Linked DNA regions of Homo sapiens: all the other regions are linked to region 1. Evidence: promoter capture Hi-C in human tissues and cell types (Jung and others, 2019). All regions are on one chromosome and are shown on one strand. The core of a region is centred on a gene start or on the middle of the fragment in contact, and the rest is flanking DNA. Distances in the headings are between cores, read along the strand shown. Region 1 holds the start of PES1 (pescadillo ribosomal biogenesis factor 1). Region 2 holds the start of LIMK2 (LIM domain kinase 2). Region 3 overlaps RNF185 (ring finger protein 185). Region 4 overlaps LOC105372995 (a long non-coding RNA gene).

Region 1 (2,621 bases), core at 79-2,578:
TGGGATTACAGGTGTGAGCGACCGTGCCCGGCTTCATCTCATTTTTAACTGTGGAATTGCTGGGTTTTAAATTTTAGCTTTAAATTAGATAGTGCAAGTCACATAGTTCAAAACAAGTATTCACCAGTGCTTAACGTCTGTCTCTGTGTAAGTTCTAAGACCAAGTCCTTGGGCCAGGTCACATTCACAAGAGCCTCAAATTTAAACTTTTGAGATCATCTTCGAACGAAATTTGGAATTTGGAAAAAGGGAGAAACGTTTAAAAAAAAAAAAACCTCTTAAAATTGCATCTACTTCCAGACTGCACCATCTCAAGGTGATGTGACTATTTGTATAAATCTTGGAATTATTATTTGAGGAACACTTACAGAATTTATGTGTACAAATTAAAAGCTCGAATATGTTGAATGTACATTTAATTTTATTTATTTATTTATTTTTGAGATGGAGTCTCACTCTGTCGCCCAGGCTGGAGTGCAGTGGCAAGATCTCGGCTCACTGCAACCTCTGCCTCCCAGGTTCAAGCGATTCTCCTGCGTCAGCCTCCCGAGTAGCTGGGATTACAGGCGTGTGCCACCATGGCCAGCTAATTTTTGTATTTTTAGCAGAGACGGGGTTTCACTATATTGGTCACACTGGTCTCGAACTCCTGACCTCAGATGATCCGCCTGTCTTGGCCTCCCAAAGTGCTGGGATTACAGGCGTGCGCCACCGCTCCCAGCCTTGAATGTACATTTTAAATATACCACGAGTCCACCACTAAGGCTCAGAAAATATAAGTGGCCTCTAGGATCTCTATACCTCCGCGAGGAAAAATGTCTTCCTTTTTTCTATTTTAGCCGCATAACCGCGAATGAACCAAAGAGAACCCGAAGCCGGTGGGAACTCAGCGCAGTCTCACCCTGCCCCTCGGGAACCGCTTCTCAGCAGCGGCAGCCGAAGTCTGACGACGCTTAGCAACCGTTACCTTGACAACGCAATCCTATCGCGCACCATGGAGTGCGGCGCCCCTCTGCATCCCAGAAGGCACCGCGCTGTCCCTAAGCCTTCCGCCCCTCTCCGTCCCAACATGCAACGAGGCTCACAGTCAATGAATCGTCATCAGGGTGATTACAGAAAAGCCTGTATATCCACGTTTGTTTTAACACTTAAAGTGTTTGTAACCATTGTGAGCGGGAAAGATCTGGAAAGAGTGTTCTCAGTGATTTTTTTCAGACTATAGTTTTAAATCTTGAGGAGGAAATCCCCATCTTTCCCTGGACTTGTACAGGCATCTCATTGGGCAGCCCGCACAAACAGACAGCGTGGGGTGGGGAGGGTCCTCGGGGTCCTTGGCAGGGCACGTGCGGGAGGAAGTGGAGCTCCCTGTACGCGCGGCCCTAGTCGGCTCCTCAACGTGGAGCGATGGGAGGCCTTGAGAAGAAGAAGGTGATTGGGAAAGACGGTGGGGATTCCCGAGGGGTGGGGTGCGGGGGCGGCAGAGCATGGGGTCGACTCTTTTCCCGGGCTCCGTCTCGTGGAGACTGGAAAGACGGGATCGACGTGACCGTAATCAGCTGCGAGAAGGGGTCCGAGAATGGACAAGGATGGCAGTATTCGTTTAGTGAAATCCGAGAACGAACTCCAGAGTTCTTTCTGTGGAGAGGGCTGTGAAAGAGAGTTGAACTTACCAAGCGTAGCTTCATTCCAAAAGCAGGCCGAGCCGTGGGACCACTATTTACCGAAAGGGTGATAAACATTACGTAGAGCTCACCGTTACTGCACCGTTACATTAGTTGGTTAGTGTTGTCTTGGAAGTTCTCTTCGAGGCATAACATTTCGGCTGAAATGGGAAAGATCAGAACGTCTTGGATGGGTTCTGGGGCATGGGAGTGCTTAGCGAGCAGGCCTGACAAGGGAAACCAAGTGCCAAGATCAGTAGGCAGGGAAGGCTTGCTGTGTGTAAGGAGTTGGAAGGACATTAGGATGACTCGCATGTAAACCAAGAAAAGAATGGCATCTGATAAGATTGGGGTTGGACACGTACTGTATCGTGCAAGGCCTGTAAGCTTGGATTTTATTCTAAGTGCAGTAGGAATAGTGTAGAGCTTGGATTTTATTCTACGTGCAGTAGGAAAAAAAGGAGGAGTAACACGATTAGAGTTTTTCAGGGAGTTCTTGTGGCTGTATGGAGAATCGGCCCAGTGACATGAAAAGACTGGGAAGGGAATGGGAATGAGGAATATATAGTTGGCTTAAGTGTTTCTTTCAGAGTGAAAGTTTCTATTGCCAGTGTTCTTAACCCAACACACTACATTGAGTATCCAGTGCTAGCCATCGGAACTGCAAAGATACAAGATGGAAAACCTGCCCTTGAGTTGCAGATGTAGATATGTAACAAAATCGTTACAGTTTTTAAAAGCTGGGTTTCAGAGCCAGAATCAACAAAGATGAGTCTTTGTTGTGGGAAGGATTGTCTTGTGTGTAGTAGGATATTTGGCAACATCCCTGATCCTTTACCTACTGGATACCAGTAGCACCCAGCAACCAAAAATGTCTCCAAACATTGCTGAACTCTCCTCCCCCCAGCACATACCCAGGGAGTACCCCATTGAGAACTATTTATTCCCTTAACATTTATA
Region 2 (2,621 bases), core at 76-2,575, 620 kb before region 1:
TAAAAAAATTTGTTTTAGGCATTTCCACCCCTAGCTCTCTCCAGAAGTCTGTTATCACCAGTGAAGAGAAAATCCCATGCTCCCTTGCTGAGGAAGTGACCCACTGGTAGCCCAGTCCTTGCATTCAAGATGAAGGAAGTGACTGTCCACAGACGGAAAGCCAGGAAGCAGGGGGCAGATAGCCAGCCCCCCTCCACCTCAATACCCTCTTGCCGCCTCTCCAAAGCTTCTGGACGCTGACCCTGGTGGACCCAGAGGTGGGCCACCCACACAGGTGGCTGGGAAACATAGGAGACAGAAGGTTCCTACTGCTGGGGGAAAAGATGGGGAAGGCAGGAAGCTGCAGGGTGGTGTGTGAGGTGGCGGGGAGGTGACTGCAGGTGCAACTAACCCAACTCTGAAGCTACCCTTCACCCTTAGACAACTCTTCCTTCCAGGAGGTGTTTGGCCGAATCCCTCTAGTCTTTAGTCTAGAGAGGCCAAGGGAGCTTCCACAGGAGGACTCAGAACCCCAGGTGGCCTACTTTCGCCACCTGTAGCAGAGATCTTTGGGCCCCAAAAAGAATGGTCCGATCTCTCCTTACCCTTAGTCCTGTCCTAAACCTCAAGGGGCTCCATACTCCCTTATTTTCTGCAAAGAGCTCCCAGCCCCGGGGGACTCCCAGACACCAAGATGCCCGCGAGAAGCCTTGGGTCTTGGCAGGGAAGTCACATCCTCCATTTCCCTCAGAAAACCCAGAACCCGGGGTAACTCTCCTAATTGTCCTGAACCCTAGAGGATCCTGTACTCCTCAAATTCCACAGAGCTTCCACTATAAGAGAACCCCATGCTTTTCAACTTCCTTAAAAAGGGTTAATTTGGGGGTCTGCGGCCGCCAGGTCCCTCCAAAAAGCTGGATTCCTGGCAGACCCAGAATCTCTTCCTCCCCGGGACCTCAACTCGCGGGAAGCCTCCCAACCCGCCTGCCCCTCGGAGCCCTCTGTCTCCAGGATGCCCTGCCTCCCCATTCCCGGAGTCCCACCCTCCAAATGCCTGGGGAGCGCTGTGCCCACCCCGCCTCCCAGCTTTTCTGAGGAGCTCGGACCCACGAGGACCCAACCAGCCCGAAACCCCCGAGAGACAGCCGGTTTCCCTCAGGCGCCATGGAACCGGACTTCGGAGATAACAGCGGGACAGGGCGGAGCAGCCCTTCCTTACCCGCCAGCGCGGACATGGTCCCGGGAGCGCGGAAATGGGGAGGAGGAGGCGGGGGACACAGCAGCTCCCCTCAGTTCCCTACAACTCCCCTCAGCTCCTGCCGCCGCCGCCTCAGGCGCGGGAAGACCACAGCCCCAGGCGCGAACGGGATGCACCGCCTACGGCGCCCTGGGAGGACCAAACCACACCTGGCACAGGGGACTGCCCGCCGACGCCCCGCCCCGCCGCTCTCAGGCCTCGCTCCCGAGACGCGGCCCCGCCCCCTGGCTCTGGCTCGGGCTCTGCAGCGGCCCTGGCGCCCCCTAGTGCGAGCGGCGTCCCCTCGAGGTGCTCCCGCCGGTAAGGTTGATTCTGCGGGGGCCGGAAGTCTCAACACGGATGACAGTCCGCACCCATCTAGTCGCCCTCATTTACAGATAGGGAAAGTTAAGGATCAGAGGCTAAGTTCGACTACATTGAAATGGCTTCGCTCATTAGGAGGAGAGCCGGGATGGGAGCCCAGGCCTGCTAACTGCCAGTTCAGAGCTCTTTCCAGTAGTGTTTGGAATCAGGAATATTACAATGGAGGAGCCAGGTCTATCCCACAAACAGCTTTGAGGATGGACTTTTCTTAGAAGCTTCTAGCTCAGAGAAACCACTTCTCTGCGCCACTATGAGTAAGCTGACAGTAAATAATCTCTAAGTCAAAGACAGTTGGAGGCGACCAACCAGCATTCCAGGAGCAGATCCTCAGCCAGGCCAATTAGGTTTAGCGCAGGACGCTGGAGCTTGTGCGCCGCATTGGAAGACGAGCACTCCCCTGCAGGAACATGGGCCTACCATTCCCAGGTCTTCCAACCTTTCAAAACATGCCAAAAATCCAGATATTTAGGTGAAATTTGCCACTTTTAAAAAATGTTGATAGCATCAAAAAGTTCTTAAAATGCCATGTAGACCAAATGAAACACACCTGGCCACTAGATTTGCCCTGTGGGCTGCCAGTTTACAATCTTCTATGAGGAGGAGGGATTACAGGACTAAGAGTTAGGACAGCTGACTGGGTTATGGCAGCTGCTAGCTGGCTGAGTAGCTTTGAGAACCACTTCCGCTCATTAGGTTTGGAAGGAGATTGGGGTCCTCTGTGTGATTAAGATATTAATACATCATCAGCCAGGCCAGCTGGTCCCTGATGACCCACCCTCCCATCAGATTCTCTCACGCTGGGTCTTTCACAATTGTCATTTCCTTACATCAGATTTAGATCACAGGAAACATGTCCAAATGACCAGAAAGAGGATGGAGCCCAGGGAAATGGATTCTGTCCCCTCCACCCCCACCCCTGACCAAAGACAAAGTTCAACCCAGCTGCCTCTGGTCCCAGCAGTTGGGTAAGCAAAGGCAAAGGCAAAGACAAAGGCGAGCACAATTCTCTTCCTTCCTGCTC
Region 3 (2,621 bases), core at 73-2,572, 580 kb before region 1:
CCAAATTGCTGAGATTACAGGCAATCAGCCACCAAGCCCAGAGATAACACATATCTGAGTGGGGATTCTAGAGCCAGCTGTTCCTACTTTTTCACATTTTCGTCCACTACTTTTTTTTTTTTTTTTTAATTTGAGACGGAGGCTCGCTCTGTCGCCCAACTGAAGTGCAACGGCGCGATCTCGGCTCACCGCAACCTCTGCCTCCTGGGTTCAAGCGATCCTCCCATCTCAGCCTCCCAAGTAGCTAGGATTACAGGCACCCGCCACCACACCCAACTAATTTTTTTGGTATTTTTCGTAGAGGCCGAGTTTCAGCATGTTGGTCAAGCTGGTCTCGAACTCCTGACCTCAGGTGATCCGCCCACCTCGGCCTCCCAAAGTGCTGGGATTACAGGCATGAGCCACCACACCCAGCCTCTTCCATTATTTTTAAATACAAAGAATGTTTTGTTCATTTGTTGGGTTTTAAGCTTCAATTATTTTTGAAAAATTACCATGTTTCATTTTTAAAAAAGGACAAAATGGAGGACAAGAATGGTGGCTCACTCCTGTAATCTTAGCACTTTGGGAGGCCGAGGCAGGAGGATCAGTTAAGGCCAAGAGTTCAAAACTAGCCTGAACAATATAGTGAGACTCCATCACCAAAAAAATTTAAAATTAGCCAGGTATGGTGGCGTGTGCCTGTAGTTCTAGCTCCTTGGGAGGCTGAGGCAGGATGCTCACTTGAGCCCAGGAGCTCAAGGCTGCAGTGAGCGATGATGACGCCACTGCACTCCAACCTAGGAGACAGAAGGAGACTCTGTTTCTTAAATTAAAAAAAAAAATTTTTTTTAAAGAGTGAAATGGGATTTGTACTACCACTGGCACAAACTTTTAAGTGTCATCTAAGAAGTTGCCTTTTGTCATAAAATGTTCCTTAACTTTTTTCCTTAAAAACTAGCACGGCACAGAGGAATGTGATGGCTGAGTTCAAATCTCAGCTCTGCAACTTATTCTGTGATTTCAGACAAGTTATTTTCTTTCTGAGCCTTTGTTTTTCTCATTTGCTAAAATGAGGCTAATATCTTCCTCACAAGACAGTTCTAAGAAATAGAGATAAAACAGTACGGGACTAGCATAGTGCCTGGCACATAGTTAAGTACTCATGAAATGTTAATCCCCCTCCCTTTTAAGGTCTCTGAGTTCACTGAAGGTAAACTGTTTTTGTATATTCCTCATAGACATATGCAACCAGCAGGTACTTGGTTAATTTGCTGAGTAAATGAGTCACAACTTTCCTTTCTCAATGAGCATCATTCCTTGAATGCAGAGTAGATGAGACATCAGAACTGTGTATGTTTATGAACTGAGAGGAAATCTAAAATTAGATACAATTTGACCCAGAGAAAATCAGATTTTCCCCAAGTGTTAAAATTAGGGGACACTTGTTATATTTCTTATCACTATAAGTAACATAGCTAACACTGCTCAGCCCTCTACATGAATTATCTCATTTAATCTTTATGGCCTGCCTTTAGGTAAACACTACTGTATCATCATTAGCATCCCTTGGGATGTTAAATAAAGGCTCAGAGTAGTTAGGTCACTTGCCCATGGTCACAGACCTAGTCAGAGGCAAAGCTTCCCAACCCAAGCCAACGTCCTTAACAAATGGTAACTCAGTGATCTGTTCTTGTGCGTCTTGTCAAGCGCAGACCCAGCTTCCAGGTTCCTTACTCAGCACAGGGCTAGGTGCCTCAGGAGCACCTGATATATACATACGTGTGTGTGTGTGTGTGTGTGTGTGTCTGTGTGTGTGTGAATGAGTTGACAGATCTGATGCCCAGGAGCAATTAGAACTGTACAACTCAATATAGCCAACTAGAGTTGTGGAAAATCAGTATCCTATAACAGCAAAACATGCTGTTCAGAACTGGAAATGTTACATAACTTAGAGTCAATTTTTTTTTTTTTAAGTATTACCCAAAACTCTTACACAAATGAAAAAAAAATTGAGGGATCTGCAACCAGAAGTAGTTTCAAGTTTTCTCAAATTTCTCCCTATTAAAGATAACATACTCACACAGAGGTTTGGTTATCCACTGAACTATTACCCACTCCAGTGAGATACCTCCTAGGGCCAACAGCACAGTTCCTGACAGGAAGTAGATGTTTGATTAAGGTATGTGAATGAATGAAGGGGATTTAATTTCAATCAAACCAATACAGCTGAGGAAAATAGTGTTTTAAAGAAAAGCTCTTCAGACTGGACAGATACCAGTCAAGGGCTGTGAATTTCTAGTATAACACCATGAAAGAAATAATCTGGAGCCAGAGGACTTAGCCTAAGGCTCAGGTCTGTCACTCACTATGCCAGTGTCCTTACCTGCAAATGGGGAATAATTGTTCCAGCCATCCCTTTGTCATGAGAAAAGTTTAAAAAATAAGGGTTTTGCTTTTTTTTTTTTTTTTTTTTGAGACGGGGTCTCACTCTGTTGCTCAGGCTGGAGTGTAGTGGCAAGATCTTGGCTCACTGCAACCTCTGCTTCCTGGGTTCAAGTGATTCTCCTGCCTCAGCCTCCTGAGTAGCGGGGACCACAGGTGTGCACCATCATGACTGGCCAATTTTTGTATTTTTAGTA
Region 4 (2,621 bases), core at 75-2,574, 520 kb before region 1:
GTTTGTGTTTAGGTAATCCATGCCCATTACACAAAACACAGAAGGAAAACATTTACCTATAATTTCATCCACCAAGAAATAATCGTTCTGACTTATTGGTTTGTTTCCTTATAGATATTTTTTGGTGGGGGCGGGGGTCTAGGCATATATATTTATATATACATGTTGTATATAATATGCATATATATTTATATACATGTTGTATATAATATGCATATATATTTATATACATGTATATTTACATATACGTGTTATATATTTTATATAGCTATATCTATTTTTTGAGATGGAGTCTCACTCTGTCGTCCAGGCTGGAGTGCAGTGGCATGATCTCAGCTCACTGAAACCTCCACCTCTGGTCCAAGCAATTCTCCTGCCTCAGCCTCCCGAGTAGCTGGGATTACAGACATGCACCACCATGCCCAGCTAATTTTGTATTTTTAGTAGAGACAGGGTTTTGCCTTGTTGACCAGGCTGGTCTTGAACTCCTGGACTCAAGTGATCCACATGCCTTGGCCTCCCAAGTGCTGGGATTACAGGCGTGAGCCACCAAGACTGGGCCTATACATGTTTTATAGAATTGGTTGGTTACTGTGTTGCTGCCACAATGTCCAGCAACACAGTAGGGTTAGGGTTAGGGTTAGGATCCTGTTAAGGTTGCAGCCCATCTCCTTCTTAACAGGAACTGGAATATGGTGGACCCCACCCTCAGCTTCAGGAATGGGTCCCAGTTGGTTAAGCCAGTAAGCAATTCCCATTTCCCCAGGCACATGATTAGATCACGAATGAACTAGCAAGATACAAGGAAATTTTTGCTCAGGGCTTTTGGGAAAGGAAGCTTATTTTCTCTCCTGAGGAGGCTGCCAAAAAAGATGATCTTCCTTCCATTAGATGTAAATGAAGAGGCCAATGGCTCTAGTTACTGCTGGCAGCCATCTTTACACCATGTAGAAAATTGGCCTACTGATAAACTGACATTATGGAAAGCAGAATGGAGAGACACCAGGCTTTGGTGACTTCATTAACTGGATCAAACTTCACCTGAAGCCCCACCTGCCATTGGACTTTTTTTTTCTTCTTTTTGAAATGGAGTCTCAATCTGTCGCCCAGGCTGGAGTACAGTGGCACGATCTTGGCTCACTGCAACCTCCGCCACCCAGGTTCAAGCGATTCTCCTGCCTCAGCCTCCCGAGTAGCTGGAGTTACAGGTGCCCACCGCTGCGTTTGGCTAATTTTTGTATTTTTAGTAGAGACGGGGTTTCGCCATGTTGGCCAGGCTGGTTTCAAACTCCTGACCTTAGGTGATCTGCCCGCCTCAGCCTCCCAAATTGCTGGGATTACAGGCGTCAGCCACTGTGCCTGTCCTGGACTTTTAAAATTATTTGAGCCAACAGAGTCCCTTTATTTATTTATTTATTTAGAGACTGAGTGTCGCTCTGGCACCCAGGCTGGAGTGCAGTGGCGCAATCTTGGCTCACTGAAACTTCCACCTCCCGGGCTCAAGCAATTCTCTTCCTCAGCCTCCTAAGTAGTTGGGATTACAGGTGTGCACCATCATGCCCAGCTAGTTTTTGTGTTTTTAGTAGAGAGGGGGTTTCACCATGATGGCCAGGCTGGTCTCCATCTCCTGACCTCAAGTGATCTGCCTATCTCGGCCTCCCAAAGTGCTGGGATTACAGGCATGAGCCACTGGGCCCAGCCCCTTTATTTTTATTATTTTTTGACACAGGGTCTTACTCACATTGCCCAGGCTAGAGTGCAGTGGTACGATCTTGGCTCACTGTATTATTTTTTATTTTTTATAGGAGATGGGGTCTCACTCTGTCTCCCAGGTTAGAGTGCAGTGGCATGATCATAGCTCACTGTAGTCTTGAACTCCTGGGCTCAAGCAGTCCTCCCACCTCAGCCTCTGGGGTAGCTGGGACTACAGGCACTGCCATGCCTGGCTAGATTTTAAATATCTTTTTTTAGAGATGGGTTCTCACTATGTTGTCCAGGATAGTTTGGAACTCTTGGCCTCAAGTTATCCTCCTGCCTCAGCCTCCTGAGTAGCTGGGTTTATAGACACAAGCCACCACAACCAGCTCCCTTTATTGTTTAAGCCAGTTTAAATTGGGGTTTCTATGACTTGCAGCCCACAGCATCACAACTCCCAATTGATATTACCAGATTACTGTTTTTGTTGCTTTTTTCTTGCTATTTAATACCATAACCACGAACATTCTCCATGTCATTCCATCTATGCTGCATCTTTTTTTTTTTTTTTGAGATAGAGTCTCACTCGCCCAGGCTGGAGTGCAGTGGTGCGATCTCAGCTCACTGCAACCTCTGCCTCCTGGGTTCAGGCAATTCTCTTGCCTTAGCCTCCCAAGTAGCTGAGATTACAGGCAGCCATCACCATGCCCAGCTAATTTTTATATTTTTAGTAGAGATGGGGCTTCACCATATTGGCCAGGCTGCTCTCAAACTCCTGACCTCAGGTGATCCGCCCACCTCGGCCTCCCAAAGTGCCGGGATTACAGGCGTGAGCCACCCACGCCCAGCCTGCTGCATCATTTTTAACAATTGCATGGTTTTCCATCCTATGGAGGTACACTCATTAATTTAACTCATCCCCTGCT

What was found. Contacts are between HindIII fragments. The study calls those that stand out against the background at their distance.
Region 2: a contact is called between the fragment with the promoter of LIMK2 here and the fragment with the promoter of PES1 in region 1, in 1 of the 25 tissues and cell types used here (dorsolateral prefrontal cortex).
Region 3: a fragment that was not itself captured here is called in contact with the fragment with the promoter of PES1 in region 1 in 1 of the 25 tissues and cell types used here (dorsolateral prefrontal cortex).
Region 4: a fragment that was not itself captured here is called in contact with the fragment with the promoter of PES1 in region 1 in 7 of the 25 tissues and cell types used here (IMR-90 fibroblasts, adrenal gland, aorta and 4 more).

Annotation. Positions count from the first base shown.
Region 1 is chr22:30,590,617-30,593,237 of GRCh38, reverse strand. PES1 (pescadillo ribosomal biogenesis factor 1) reads left to right here and starts at 1,328. Exons shown (of 15, transcript NM_014303.4): 1 at 1,328-1,428. The coding sequence starts at 1,405. RefSeq lists enhancers at 706-785, 1,006-1,305, 785-1,500. The HindIII fragment of the contact is 28,649 bases long and covers 1-2,621 here.
Region 2 is chr22:31,211,002-31,213,622 of GRCh38, reverse strand. It overlaps LIMK2 (LIM domain kinase 2), which reads right to left and starts at 1,325. Exons shown (of 16, transcript NM_005569.4): 1 at 1,199-1,325. The coding sequence starts at 1,214. RefSeq lists enhancers at 1-642, 1,605-1,784 and a silencer at 1,225-1,624. The HindIII fragment of the contact is 2,868 bases long and covers 35-2,621 here.
Region 3 is chr22:31,172,583-31,175,203 of GRCh38, reverse strand. The region is part of intron 1 of RNF185 (ring finger protein 185); the gene reads right to left. Among named protein-coding and RNA genes, the nearest start is that of RNF185, 14 kb to the right of the region's middle. The HindIII fragment of the contact is 3,103 bases long and covers 1-2,621 here.
Region 4 is chr22:31,115,321-31,117,941 of GRCh38, reverse strand. The region is part of intron 1 of LOC105372995 (a long non-coding RNA gene); the gene reads left to right. Among named protein-coding and RNA genes, the nearest start is that of INPP5J, 6.3 kb to the left of the region's middle. The HindIII fragment of the contact is 5,360 bases long and covers 1-2,621 here.